3 separate regions of the Homo sapiens genome follow, and all the other regions are linked to region 2. The links are contacts of gene promoters, found by promoter capture Hi-C in blood cells and fetal thymus (Javierre and others, 2016). All regions are on one chromosome and are shown on one strand. Each heading gives the region's core, a stretch centred on a gene start or on the middle of the fragment in contact. The rest is flanking DNA. Distances are from core to core; before and after follow the strand shown.

Region 1 (4,539 bases), core at 129-2,628, 140 kb after region 2:
TAAAATAATTAGTTTTTCATTGTGTACTTTTATTCTTCATGGTTCATTCTGATAGCTCTGGAAAATAGAATAAAAGATATTAACTAAAGCATCATCATGACAGGAGATGGGAGTAGTTGATATCCAATTTCCTAAATGGATGTGATGTTTAAAATCCTGTTCCTTCCTCTTTACTCTGAATGACATATGTTGCATGAGAGAGTTTATGCAATTTATACCAGTAAGATGTTCAAGATAGCATTTTTGTAATCTTTTGTAATTATATTTTACAAGTTGGTTCGTTAGCATGCTCAAACTTTTTTCATGCTCTAAAACATATTGCCATATTTTCTTGAATTTGAGAATTGGCTTTAAGGGAAAGTGGTTGGGCAAACATAGATTTAAATAACAAGGTTTGATTTAATCATTTGTCTTACTGGAGTTCATTTTTATGCCATTGGTTTTCACATTGTCAAAAAATACAGCAGAATGAGATGGGTATGAAATAATTATGTTCATTGAAGTGTTAGGACTTCCAAATGGCAGAGACATTTTGCTGAACTCTCCCAGATGTTTACATAAATGTGACCATGATATTTGAAATAGATTTGTATTTGTGAAGTAGACAGCTGAAATTGAATGTATCAGTTTTGCTATAAATTGAAAGTTGGTGATATTGAACAAAAATAGTTATCACATGAAAATAGACCTCCCTCAACATCAGTAATATTTTAGAAACCTGTCTCAGCCTCTTTTTCCAAAGCTGCTTGCCGCTGTTGATTTTTTATTTCAGTCCTTTTGTATTTATTCTTCTCAATAGCTCTTACAGATAATAAGTTGCCTGCCTGGTTTTTAAATCTGACTAAATTTGATTCTGGTATAGATAATGTTTTGACAAGCAAACAGTCTATGTGAATTATAGAGGTATATTGAAAGAACCCATATATTTCAAAATTACCTAATTTGGTATTTCTGCCTACTTATTTTATTTTGACTAGCTGAAAGGTTTTTGTGCACTTTTAGTCACTTTAAGAACAAATTGTGTCAGAGAAAAGTTGGTATATTTCAGTTTAGGGAGATCCCCTCCTCCTTGCTGTCCTCCCTCCCCTTGGTGAGACATGTCAGGGGAGCATGTAGTGACTTCCATTTAGAGTTTAGGCACAGTAAACAAATGGTGAGTTTAAGACATTGTCTACAAATATTCCCATATATCTTTTGGGCTTTACTTATGTGAAGAGGTTCTGACTGGAGTACAAAAGAAAGCTTGCCTTATTATTCTGAGTGTATTTTAGTTTGGAGAAAGTTATGGGTTTTGTTTGTTGGTTTGTTTTGAGACGGGGTCTCACTGTACTGCCTAGGCTGGCGTGCTGTGGTGCAATCACAGCCTCAAACACCTGGGCTCAAGAAATCCTCCTACCCCAGCCTCCCAAGTAGCTGGAACTATGGGCACGCACCACCAGGCTCAGCTAATTTTTAAACTTTTTGTAGAGATAGAGTCTCCTCATGTTGCCCAGGCTGGTCTGGAGAAAGCTTTGACTCTAGAAATGGCTGAAGCCGACAAGAGGAGGGACATCATAGGGAGAGCTGGGCAAGAAAAAAATGTAAAGCGACTTCATTTCTTTCTTTCTTTCTTTTTTTTTTTTTTTTGAGACAGAGTTTCACTCTTGTCGCCCAGGCTGGGGTGCAATGGCGCGATCTCGGCTCACCGCAACCTCTGCCTCCTGGGTTCAAGCGATTTTCCTGCCTCAGCCTCCTGAGTAGCTGGGATTACAGGCATGCACCACCATGCCTGGCTAATTTTGTATTTTTAGTAGAGACAGGGTTTCTCCATGTTGGTCAGGCTGGTCTTGAACTCCCGACCTCAGGTGATCCACCCGCCTTGGCCTCCCAAAGTGCTGGGATTACAGGCGTGAGCCACTGCGCCCAGCTGTGACTTAATTTCAATCCAGTTGTGGTCAATGCATTTTGGTGTAAGACAACTAAAATTTGAGAGACAGTCCCTAGTATTTTCGGTTGCCCTAAACCTATAGTTGAACTAAAGCCCTACTTAATATAATAAAAGTTGCTTTGGTATTTCATGGGTTCAAAAATATAGCATGTTTCATATGTGCAAATTCATGCCATTTTGCCTGTTGCCTCGGGGATCTATTTCGTTTGTTTGCTACAATTGCAACCAGAGGATTTTCACTTCACTACTTCCAGACTTGTGAGAGATGCTGATCTTGTAGGTGTTGATTTCTCTCATCTTCTGAACCATCACATTCTCTCTGTGCTGGAATCAGAAACCTAGTAGAGTTAGCTCTTGATTGAGGTAGCAACTTCAGGGCTTCAGGGCCCAGAATAACTGGGGGAATTTTTTTTTTTTTTCGTAAGTTGTGTTGTAGTGCAATAAGAAGAGTACTGGATTAGAAGCTAAAAGACCCAGGTTCTGATCCTAGCTCTGTCATTTCTTAACTGTGTGTTTAGACCAATCACAGAACCTTTCTGGGCCTCTCTTTACTCATCTGTGAAATGAGGAGACTGAATAGGTGATGAAGTGACCAGGAAGTCTCCTCCCATGTACAAGTCTGTGAGATTAATTAGAAAAGAAATAAAAGGCAGCAATTATTGATACCACTGTGTGTTTAGAAAGCCCATGTGCGTAACTTCAGATAGCCTTTTTCTCAAGGCTATACAGATGTGGTGTTTATGCTATAAACCATATCCTAGGTTTTTAGAGTCTTTTTTGTTTTAGGAAGATGGTATAAATCTGAGAATCTAAAACACAGTCGCATTAGCCCGACATTCATGTGTTTTACTTAGGGCAGTACTACTTGTTCACTCACTTTTTTGTCCATTCATTCATCATACAGAAGGTTAAGAGTTCCTGTCATATATATGGTATTCTTGTTTTGGGCACTGTTCTAATCTTCTTGCATTAACTTATATCCTAAACTTTTGTTTGAAAGGTTTTTAAAAATTAAAAATAAAAGAAACCCCTTAAATTATTTAATTGAATCAACCTTTGTGATAGAAAATAGTAATGTCAACGGAGGGAGAAAGGAACATTATTTGTGACACTGTGCAGTGTATGAGATGAAGTGATGTAAAACATGGGGCTACTGTTTTCTCTCCATCTCCCCTCGCCTTGCCTCGCCTCACCTCACCTCTCCTCTCTTGTCCTCTTGTTCCCTCCCCTCCTCTTCCCTCCTCTCCTCCCTTCTCTTCTCCTCTTCTCTCCTTTCTCCTATATTTCCTCTCCAAGGCACTGTTTTTTGAAGATTCAGCTGCCAGGGTAATGGCAATGGGTAAGGTGTGAAGGAAGAGTGAGTCATTCCCTTTAATCCTTGCTGACAGTTGCACAGCACTCAGACCAGCCTTGACTTCCCTGACCTCTTGAACTGTGAGGGTAAAGGTGAAAATAGACCATCAGGTCAGCCCGCTGCTATCTCAGGCGGGCTGGCGATAATTACCAGTAGGGAGCATTTTGCATCCATTAGAGATGAACTGGGGAAGAGGGACAGATTGGATCAAGTCTAAATGTATTTTGAGACACAAACATGCTCTCAAGTTGGAGAAAAATATTTTTTTTTCTAATTCTCCAAGAAATTTTGTATGTCTTTGTTTCAAATGGGAAAAAAAAAAATGGACACACGTCCATCAGGAATCACCATCTTTACATTGTCAGAATAATTCTGTTTAAGTTGTTCTTTTCAAAGGACAAGAAGACCTTCCTTTGCACATACTGTCCTTTAGGGGATTTCCTTTCTCTGAATCTTGTTCTCCTGTTATAAACTTGTTTGACTACACTTCAAACTAGGCCATCCTCAAATACTTGGCTCAAAATGGATTTCTCTCTTGGATGCAGAAGAAAAATGACTACATTTCTGCATATTTCTCCTGATTTTTATTCTTTCCCAAAAAAACAGATGTTATTCAGACCAAAGTGGTTACCATAGCATCTCCTTATTTTAAAAGTTTTATGTATTACTTTATTAAAGGAAGTTTTCATAACGAAAAGAACATGAAAAAAAGATCTCACTCACCTGTGGTAAACATGTTAATGAGGTTTTGACACTTCAACAAACCATCGGATCTCCCTGTGAAGTAACTAATGAGAAATTGCCTGCTTTGGTTAACAGCAACAGGAAGCAGTTTTAATACCTGTTTCTAAGAGAAAAAAAAGTATTTTTCCAACCCCTTCCCAAAGGCCTGATGTCCATAATCCTGTAAGCATTACAATGTCATAGTATTTTTGGGCTATTAGGAACCACCAGTGAGGCTCTTTTACCATGGAAGGAAGGAGGATCAGAGAGGTGGAGTGACACAGCTGGCAGGTGACAGAGCAGCGCCAGACCTCGGCCTATAAGGCACTGCAGTCCAGGCCCTTCCTTCCCCAGGAGGTGACCAAGAGCAGTGCATGTCATGCGCGGGGCTTTGGACAGCAAGGAGTCTGGTCATTGAAAGTTGGTGGGAGAGGCCAGGTGCAGTGGCTCACACCTGTAATTCCCCACTTTGGGAGTCCTAAGCAGGTGGATCACTTGAGGTCAGGAGTTCAAGACCAGCCGGGCCAATATGGTG
Region 2 (4,397 bases), core at 1,652-4,151:
GTGGTCCTCTGCAGGCCCTCACCCCTTAACTTCCTCATACAGACTGGCACTGGGCAGGGCCTCTCATGTGGCAGCCACATGTGGCGTTGTGAGGCCACCCCATGTGGGGTCTGTGGTGAGAGTCCTGTAGGATCCCTGCTCAAGCAGCACAGAGGAAGGGGCAAGACGTGGCCTGTAGGCACTGTCTCAGCCTGCAGAGAAGAAAGTGAGGCCGGGAGCCTGAGCCTGGGCTGGAGCCTTCTCCCCTCCCCAGTTGGACTAGGGGCAGTGTTAATTTTGAAAAGGTGTGGGTCCCTGTGTCCTCTTCCAGGGGTCCAAGGGAACGGGAGAGGTCACTGGGCCTGTTTTCTCCCTCCTGACCCTGCATCTCCCACCCCGTGTATCATAGGGAACTTTCACCTTAAAATCTTTCTAAGCAAAGTGTGAATAGGATTTTTACTCCCTTTGTACAGTATTCTGAGAAACGCAAATAAAAGGGCAACATGTTTCTGTTTCCCTGTGTCTGGCCTTCGCTTCCTGGAAGGCTGAGGGGAGGGGGCAGGGGTGTGGGCAGCGGCTCCCGCTGAGGTGCTGGTGGGGCATCAGTGCAGCTCTGACGGTGGCAGGAGGGGCGCTGGGACTGCTGGGCTTTCTGCTGGCTTCAGCAGGGAAATCCCCCAAGGGGGCTGTGAGGGAACTGGCGGCGGCAGCGGTAGTCAGAGAGCAAAATTCTCTGTGCTTTTGCCTGGCTGTTCTCCGACAGGTCTTGCGCCTTGGCCCCAGAGGCTGGGGTGACCTGTGCCATGGCCAAGGAGGGGGACACTCCAGCAATGGTTTACACGTGGAGCCAGGGTCCCAAGTGGTGCTCAGTCCTTCCCAGTGAATCCCCAGCCCTTCTCCAGTTTCTCACTTCTCTCCCCAAGGCCTTTCCCCAGTCACCTCTCCCTTGGGAGCGCTGCGTTTCCTTCTGGCCTTTCAGTGGAGGGGACTTTTCATACTTCCTCCTCCCACCATAAGCCTGAGTGGCAGGGGAAGAGGTTCTGGGGACTTTCTGAGGCCAACATGGCTAGGAGAGAGAGGAGTCCTATAGCAAGGAATCCTTATCTCACGAGGGCACTGACCTTCCAGCGTGTTCTGGGGAGTATCAGCTGCTATTCCCAGGAGAGGCACAAAGTCCCAGGTAGAAGGGAGGAGCTGTCCCCAGCAGCCTGGGGTCTCTAGCCCCGGTCCACCATCACAGCACCCTTGGAGTGAGTGTCAGGGAGTGTGGGATATTTGCCCAAGTCCAGCCACCACCCCTGTCCGAGTAGAGCCCACACAGTATTGGAAAGAGAAATATAGCCACTGCTTTCACTCCTGGGAGTAGGGGTGCCCTGGTTGCTTTCACCAGCCTGCAAGAGTATAGTCAGGGTGAGGTGCTGGAGAACATCAACAACGATCTGGGTTCAAATCCCAGCTTTGCCACTTATTAGCCATGTTGCTGTGTCAACTTCTCTGAGCTTCAGTTTATTCCACTGTTGTGTAAAGATAATGCCTCTTAGGGCTGTTGTGAGCATTAGCACAGTGCCTGGCATATAGTAAATACTCAATATATGGTAGCCATATTATTATAATTGTAATTGTTACTACCACCACTGTCGTCTATTTATTTATTTATTTATTTATTTTTTTGAGACTGAGTCTTGCTCTGTTGCCCAGGCTGGAGTGCAGTGGCACCATCTTGGCTCACTGCAACCTCCGCCTCCCAGGTTCAAGCAATTCTCATGCCTCAGCCTCCTGAGTAGCTGGGATTACAGGTGTGTGCCAAAACATCTGGCTAATTTTTTTTTTTTTTTTTTTTTTGGTAGAGACGGGGTTTCGCCATGTTGGCCAGGCTGGTCTTGAACTCCTGGCCTCAAGTGATCTGCCTGCTTCGGCCTCTGAAAGTGTTGGGATTACAGGCATGAACCACCACGCCTGGCCTGTCATCCCTTCAAATGTTCTTTCAGAACTGAGGCATGCAGAGGCTGGAAGACAGGCTGGGCTCACCGGGGTGGTTATCTCTGAGAGAGGACATGGGTGAGGTCAGAGGCCTCTCCCTGGAGAAGGAGGTAGGTGGAGAAGCCAGATGGCATCCAGATAAGGAAGACCAGCATCTCCTTGAGAGTGTACACGGGAGCACGAGATGGGGAGGGAGGCTGAGTGCTCCTTACAGGCCCACCCTGTTGCCTCCAGGTGTTAGCTGCTGTTGTCCTGGGTCTTCAGTGTTGACCGTCGCATGGCATTTGGGCAGCTGGTTCTGCTGGGTTATGGTCCTCATGTCCCTGGCACAGACACAGCCATTGCCTGCTGGCACTTGATACCTACTCATATTCCATTTCTCTATTCCAAACACACTGGATTGCATGGCCCAGGGCGCCACGGTGTGCACCATTGTCTGGCCCACACTCACCTAGAATACATACCAGGATCTCCTACCCACTCCTTAGGTACAAGAAGAAGAAGGGGTTCTGGCCGGGCATGGTGGCTCACACCTGTAATCCCAGCACTTTGAGAGGCCGAGGTGGGTGGGTCACAAGGTCAGGAGATTGAGACCATCCTGGCTAACACGGTGAAACCCCGTCTCTACTAAAAAACACACACAAAAAAATTAGCTGGGCGTGGTGGCAGGCACCTGTAGTCCCAGCTACTCGGGAGGCTGAGGCAGGAGAATGGCGTGAACTTGGGAGGCGGAGCTTGCAGTGAGCCGAGATTGCGCCATTGCACTCCAGCCTCGGCGATAGAGCAAGACTCCGTCTCAAAAAAAAAAAAAAAAGGGGGGTTCTGGCCTTAATCTGCCTCCAGCTCAGTTATAAGGTGGCTTATCTAAAGGCTTGGGAGGTGGGGCACCCAGCCCTACCCACCCGTCCAGGAAGTTCCACACCTGGACAACTTTCAGTTTCATTATTTTAGCTTCCTGAGATTCAGAGGCCAGGAACTGTGCAGAGATCTGTGGGGATTCTCACAACTTCCATTTCTGGTGAACAGCTGAGGTCAGAGAGGAGGTGGGTACCACTTGAGATGGGCCTGTGGTTCCCGGGTACTGTCTTTCCAGACACCTAGAATTCCCAGGTTGGTAGTGAACTGAGAGTCAACCACCATGATGGGGCCAGAGACAGAGGAGGAAGCAGTGAGTGGATAAGTGCCTGTGCTGGGCAGAAGGGATATAGGGGAAGGTGGCCAAAGGTAGGATGGGGAAGTGGATCCCAGGAAGCTTTTGTTTCTTCTGAGGCCAATTTACCACCACCTCATTGGGAAATTGTTGGTAGGGAGGCACCCATCCAATTGCCTTGCAGAATACAGCAAGGCAGGGAGCCCAAGAATCAGAGCCAAGGGAAGAAACGACCAGTTGAGGTTAGTAATGTGAAGTCTGGCAACCGTGCCCGTCATTCCTCCCTGGTTCCTCTGTTCATCAACGTTGGGGCTAGTCTGGCTGGGGCATGGTGGGCCTGCCTTTCCATCCCTTGGGCCCCTTGGAACAAGGGGGCAACTCTGCTGTGGGAGATGTAGAAAATGGGTCTCACTTTCTCTATTTGGGGCAATAGCTGCTACTTTTTTCCTCCAGATGGGTACCATGAGGGGCAGAGGAGAATCTGGGATCTGTGATGTTTAGCCCTCTTTACTGAGTCATGGCTGCCTCACGTTCTAGAAGTAAGGCAGGCAAATCATTCCAGGTACTGATTGTCCTGGAACCTTTGGCTCTTCCTTGACCTCATGTCACGTGCGTCCATGTGAAGAGAGTCCACGAAACGGGCTTTATATGAGCAACAAGGCTGGGTGCAGGCAAGCTGAGTCCAAAAAAGGGGTCAGCAAAGGGTGGTGGCATTATCATTAGTTCTTATATGTTTGGGATAGGCTTACAAAGTACATTCTCAAGGGTGGAGAAATATTACAAAGTACCTTCTTAAGGGCAGGGGAGAATATTACAAAGTACCTTCTTAAGGGCGGCGGCGGGGAGACTATATTGTATCAGGGTGGGGCAGGAACAAATCACAATGGTGGAATGTCATCAGTTAAGGCTATTTTCATTTCTTTTGTGGATCTTCAGTTGCTTCAGGCCATCTGGATGTATACATGCAGGTCACAGGGAATATGATGGCTTAGCTTGGGTTCAGAGGCCTGACACCTCAGGCTGCCAAATGTGGAAGATTTAAATACTTGAACCAATACCCTCCTCCCAAAAACTGAAATTGGCTTCTGTTTCTGAGTTGGTCCAGGCGCAATGTTCAGCGTATTTGAGGAAATCACAAGAATTGTAGTTAAGGAGATGGATGCTGGAGGGGATATGATTGCCGTTAGAAGCCTTGTTGATGCTGATAGATTCCGCTGCTTCCATCTGGTGGGGGAGAAGAGAACTTTCTTTGGATGCCGGCACTACACAACAGGCCTCACCCTGATGG
Region 3 (4,641 bases), core at 1,189-3,688, 210 kb after region 2:
TTGGTTGTGAGCGATGAGCACGTAGCCCTGCACCTCCTGGATATCCTGGGAGGGGGAAGCAGAGTGGGGCTGAAATAGGAACACTGCCACCCCCCAGGGCCTCCCTGGGGTTCCCCAGTACTTGGAGATCTTGGGCAAGGCCCCCAGCCACTGAGCAGTCCTGTTCCCGCTTAAATAAAACGATAAAATAGAGATAAAGATCACGCCCTACCTTGCCTCACCAGATTCTTATATGATCAAGAAAGATAATGGTGGGGGGGCATTTCATAAACTCCGAACAGGTGCCCTGCCCTCTCTGTATCTCAGTTTCTTCATCAGTGAAAGCAAAGGCCTGGATGGGATGGCGTCTGCAAATTTTTTTTTTTTGAGACGGAGTTTCACTCTTGTTGCCCAGGCTGGAGTACAATGGCACGATCTAGGCTCACCACAACCTCCGTCTCCCAGGTTCAAGTGATTCTCCTGCCTCAGCCTTCCCAAGTAGCTGGGATTATAGGCATGTGCCACCATGCCTGGCTAATTTTGTATTTTCAGTAGAGACGGGGTTTCTCCATGTTGGTCAGGCTGGTCTCGAACTCCCGACCTCAAGTGATCTGTCCGCCTCGGCCTCCCAAAGTGCTGGGATTACAGGCATGAGCCATCGCACCCGGCCGGCGTCTGCAATTTGACAAACCAAGCATGTGGCCCCATTCCAGGGTCTGTGGACACGATCCAGCAGGTTGGTTTCCACTCTCCCTCCTGTTCATAACCTTTTCACAGACATTTCTCTTCTGAGCTTCACAACTGCTCCCAATATACAGATAGGGAAACTGAGACCCAGTGAAGCTAAGGGGGTGTAGGCCACATTCATAGGGCTCGTCAGTGGCAGAAGTGGGCCTGTAATCCACCTTTCTCACCAGCCCTTTCTTCTGCTGTAAGTGGGAGAGGGATAGTGGCTGGAGCAGGTGGACAGGGGACATGATCATGCTGGCAAGAGAGCACAAGATTTAGCGGAAACACAGACGCATCCCATCCAGACATGACCTCGGCCAGCCACGTTATAGAGAGAGTCAACTGATTCTGCAGTAAAATGAATGGGGGTTAGATGTTAGAAAGGACTTCCTGGTTGAGAAACCACAACAAGAGAGGAAACAGAAGGGCAGGGCACCTTCTTCTGCCACCCACCTGTAAACAGAGGGCTCAGCCCAGCTGGAGGCAGGGCCTGGCTGGGTTGCCCACGGGCCTCACCTGCAGGAAGGACAGGCTGGCATTGGTGGGCAGGTAGGTGAGTTCCAGGTTTCCCTGCACCACCTGGCAGCCCTGGTAGAGGTGGCGGAGCATGTCCAGGTGGGTCTCGGGACTGGCAGGGAGCCGCAGCTTCATGTCTGTGCCGGTGCACACTGGCAGGAGAGAGCAGATGGGTCAGAGGACACTGGCGGGGGACCTTCTCAGACCTGGCCACCCCATCCAAACTCACTCCAAGTCATGCCACCTCAGACAGGGAGAAGCCTGACTGAAGGACCCCTCCGCCCATGTCCCTTGCACACTGCAGGTTTAACAGCAGGAGAAAGCTTGCGTGCTTGGGAAGTAGAGGGATTTCAGGGGAAAGGCTTCTTCTGACTAGGCCCACCCTGTGCATTCAGAGGCTGCCCCAGCGTGCCAGCCCTGGGGAGCTCGCCCGCCAGTACAGGGTGTTGGCTGGCAAAGAAAGGCTTCCTTTGTCCCAAAGGCACAACTCAGGGCAAAGGGGTAAAAATCCCCCAAGAGAGGCGATGACGAATCATGAATCTTCTGGATACCCCCTGCCCCTCTCCCAAGCAAACAAACTCGGTGCATTCTCCCTATGCCATTCCAGCACACCCACATGCCAACCTCTTGGCAAGGGATCCACACCCCCGTAATGCCACCCAGAGAGTGGGGAAGGAGGGTCAGCTGGAGTTGCAGCTGAGGCATGGGACAACCGGGGCTCTGGTCATTGCAGAGACCTCTGGGAGTCCCCCATGAAGAGAAAAGGAGCGTCAGATTCCAGTTGTGGGCATCTGGACCCAGGCTGCAGATCCCAGGCCAGGGTGAAGCATGCGCCAAAGGTTCCTGCGCTGGCACCCTCACCCTGGCCACCTCCTCAGGGCAAGACTCCAGAACCAGCTGGCAGAATGTGTGCCACGAAACTGCTGCCACAAAGGCACTACGTCAGCCCTGCATACCTGCCCAGCGCGAGCCATCAGCCATGGGGCATAGGGCTGAACTGCCACACCTGGCCCACTTGGACCCCAGCCTGGTATCCCTGAGACCAGAAATGCCCACTAAGGTCAGGAATACTAGAGGAGGTAAAGCACCCCTGGTGAGGGGCGCCGGGGTAGCAGCTCACACCAGGCCTGCCAGTGAGGGGAGATTAAAGTGCCCAGTTGAACTTGTTTTTCTGCTCTGGTGAGATGAATCACCTGGCGTGTCTTGCCCAGGAGATCGGAAGGGTGGGGGCAGAGGGCACCCTCAGGCCCACAGGTGCCTGAGCTGCCCAGAATTCCTGCCGGTCACTGCTCCGCCTCCCACAGGCTACATGCAGATTCAGGGACAGCACAAGGGCTGGCTTGGGGTCTGACACCAGAGGCACTGCTCTCCCAGCAAGTTGGAGCCTAAGGTCAAATCCTAGGGGGTAATACGAGGTACCCCCTGCCTTCAGATTGCTGGGAGAGGCTGGTAGGGCAAGCCCCCAGGTTCCCTGCCTGGGCCAGTGGCCAGTGGCCACAAACTGGTGGTCTCCTAGTGATACTCAGAATGGCCTCTATTCCCACCTCTCTAGGCAGATAAGGACAAAGAGGGAGGAACAGGAGGGAGGAACAGAAATAGAACTCAAGGGTCCATGTCCCTGAGGGAGGCCTCCCCACTCCATGCCTCACCCACTTGCACCCCCTCCTCTTCCCCACACTTCCTCCCCCAACAGACTCCCAAGAGAAACAGGAGCTGGGGGTGGCAGGCCAGGCCCAAAATAACGCCCTGCTGCCAGGACCTCCCCCGGCCTCAGCCCTTCAGCTGCTTTATAGACACAGCTGTCTGCAGGCCCAGACCCCAGGCCCTGGCCCAAGCCCAGGGTCTCCACAGGGCTGGGGCAGGGTCCGACTCCACCCCCTGTAGCCCTTTTCAAGGGATACCAGCTGTGGCCGCCAGGCAATAGGAAAACAACAACAATGGGGAGTGGGGGCCGCCACAGTAACTGAGCTGAGCACCTACTGTGTGCCTGGCAGGCACTCTCGGTGGATCTGCATAACATGCTCCAGAGACTGGGGCTGCAACCTCCATCTTGCAAAGAAGACAACTGAGGCTGGCAGGGGTTAGCTCTCGCCTCATAAAGCTTGTGAGCAACAGGCAGGACTGGAACTCAGGCTGGCCTGCCTTCAGATCCCACATTCCTTCCACTAGGCCTAACTGCACACACACAAATCCACCCCACACCCCACGCCAACATAAATACACACTAATTCTCCCAATGCCACCGATAAACACCACAGGCTCTACGGAGGGCAGGGTGGCTGGGCTGGGTTGGGCTGGAGGGTCAGAACGGGTGGTAGCCCCACCCCACTAGTGAGTTTGTTTACCTGATTTGTGGCCAATTTGAGTCTGATTAAGAATCTTAAAGTGTTTGCAGACAGGTGGTAAAATTGGTACCCTGAGAACGGTTCCCAGGGAACTGGAGGCTTGCTGGCTAACACCCCCACCAGCCTACATGAAGTCAAGAAGGTCTTCCTGACACCTCCCTCCCACTCTCCCATCTCCTTACCATTGTCCCCATATCTGCCCTGTCCCATTGGTTTTCTTTTTTTGAGATGGAGTCTCGCCCTGTCGCCAGGCTGGAGTGCAGTGGCGCAATCTCGGCTCACTGCAACCTCTGCCTCCCGGGTTCAAGCAATTCTCCTGCCTCAGCCTCCTCAGTAGCTGGGATTACGGGTGCCTGACACCACACCTGGCTAATTTTTGTATTTTTAGTTGAGGCGGGTTTCACCATGTTGGCCAGGCTGGTCCTGAACTGCTGACCTTGTGATCCGCCCGTCTCGGCCTCCCAAAGTGCTGGGATTACAGGTGTGAGCCACGGCACCTGGTCCCCGTTGATTTCCTGGGGGGTAGGTCCTAATTCTACCCAGGAGTGTCCTTGTCTCCAGGACCCTGCCCCTCAGGAACCCCAACCTCCAATTCTCCAGAGCAAAGACAGTATGAGGCAGGACCAGCCACAGGGAGCGCTAGATAAGTGTCTGCTGAGTGAATGAATGAATGAGTGGATGAATGAAGTCCAGTCACGAGTCTCCGAACAAAAGGGACCAGTTGAGGTCATGGAATCCATCTCTCTGCTCAGAGCTGGTCACAGTCCTTCATGTCTCTCTGGACTCTGGTGGTCAGGACTTGACCCCAGTCCTGAGGTTTCTCTCAGGTGGGTTCTCTCCTCCCCACCAGCTTGCAGCCCCAGCTGCTCCTCTTGCTCACAGCAGAAAAGCCAATACTTCCCTTGGTTTCCATGAATACTACAGTAAAATGACCTGTGTCCCCAAAGCTCAGCTCTCCCAGACCCATAATGTCACAGCCCATTCAAGTGACACTGGGATTCCCCGACCACAAACACCTGGTGTATCAGGCCTGACATCAGACCAGGGCCTGGGCCCAGGGTCTTTAGTTGAG

The links. The method cuts DNA at HindIII sites, captures the fragments that hold promoters and counts their contacts. A CHiCAGO score of 5 or more calls a contact.
Region 1: a contact is called between a fragment that was not itself captured here and the fragment with the promoter of GSDMB in region 2, in 4 of 17 cell types (activated CD4 T cells, naive CD8 T cells, megakaryocytes and 1 more). The highest score is 6.6, in activated CD4 T cells.
Region 3: a contact is called between a fragment that was not itself captured here and the fragment with the promoter of GSDMB in region 2, in 1 of 17 cell types (activated CD4 T cells). The highest score is 5.2, in activated CD4 T cells.

Annotation. Positions count from the first base shown.
Region 1 is chr17:39,773,012-39,777,550 of GRCh38, reverse strand. All of the region lies in intron 7 of IKZF3 (IKAROS family zinc finger 3), which reads left to right. Among named protein-coding and RNA genes, the nearest start is that of GRB7, 37 kb to the right of the region's middle. The HindIII fragment of the contact is 267 bases long and covers 1,245-1,511 here.
Region 2 is chr17:39,917,139-39,921,535 of GRCh38, reverse strand. It overlaps GSDMB (gasdermin B), which reads left to right and starts at 2,901. Exons shown (of 11, transcript NM_001165958.2): 1 at 2,901-3,002; 2 at 4,206-4,397. The coding sequence starts at 4,220. It overlaps ORMDL3 (ORMDL sphingolipid biosynthesis regulator 3), which reads left to right. Exons shown (of 4, transcript NM_139280.4): 4 at 1-493. RefSeq lists a cis regulatory region at 2,635-2,648 and promoters at 2,627-2,989, 3,713-4,121, 3,672-4,301. The HindIII fragment of the contact is 7,383 bases long and covers 1-3,213 here.
Region 3 is chr17:39,703,725-39,708,365 of GRCh38, reverse strand. It overlaps ERBB2 (erb-b2 receptor tyrosine kinase 2), which reads right to left. Exons shown (of 27, transcript NM_004448.4): 2 at 1,225-1,376; 3 at 1-45. Among named protein-coding and RNA genes, the nearest start is that of ERBB2, 6.0 kb to the right of the region's middle. RefSeq lists an enhancer at 2,700-3,572. The HindIII fragment of the contact is 1,778 bases long and covers 1,550-3,327 here.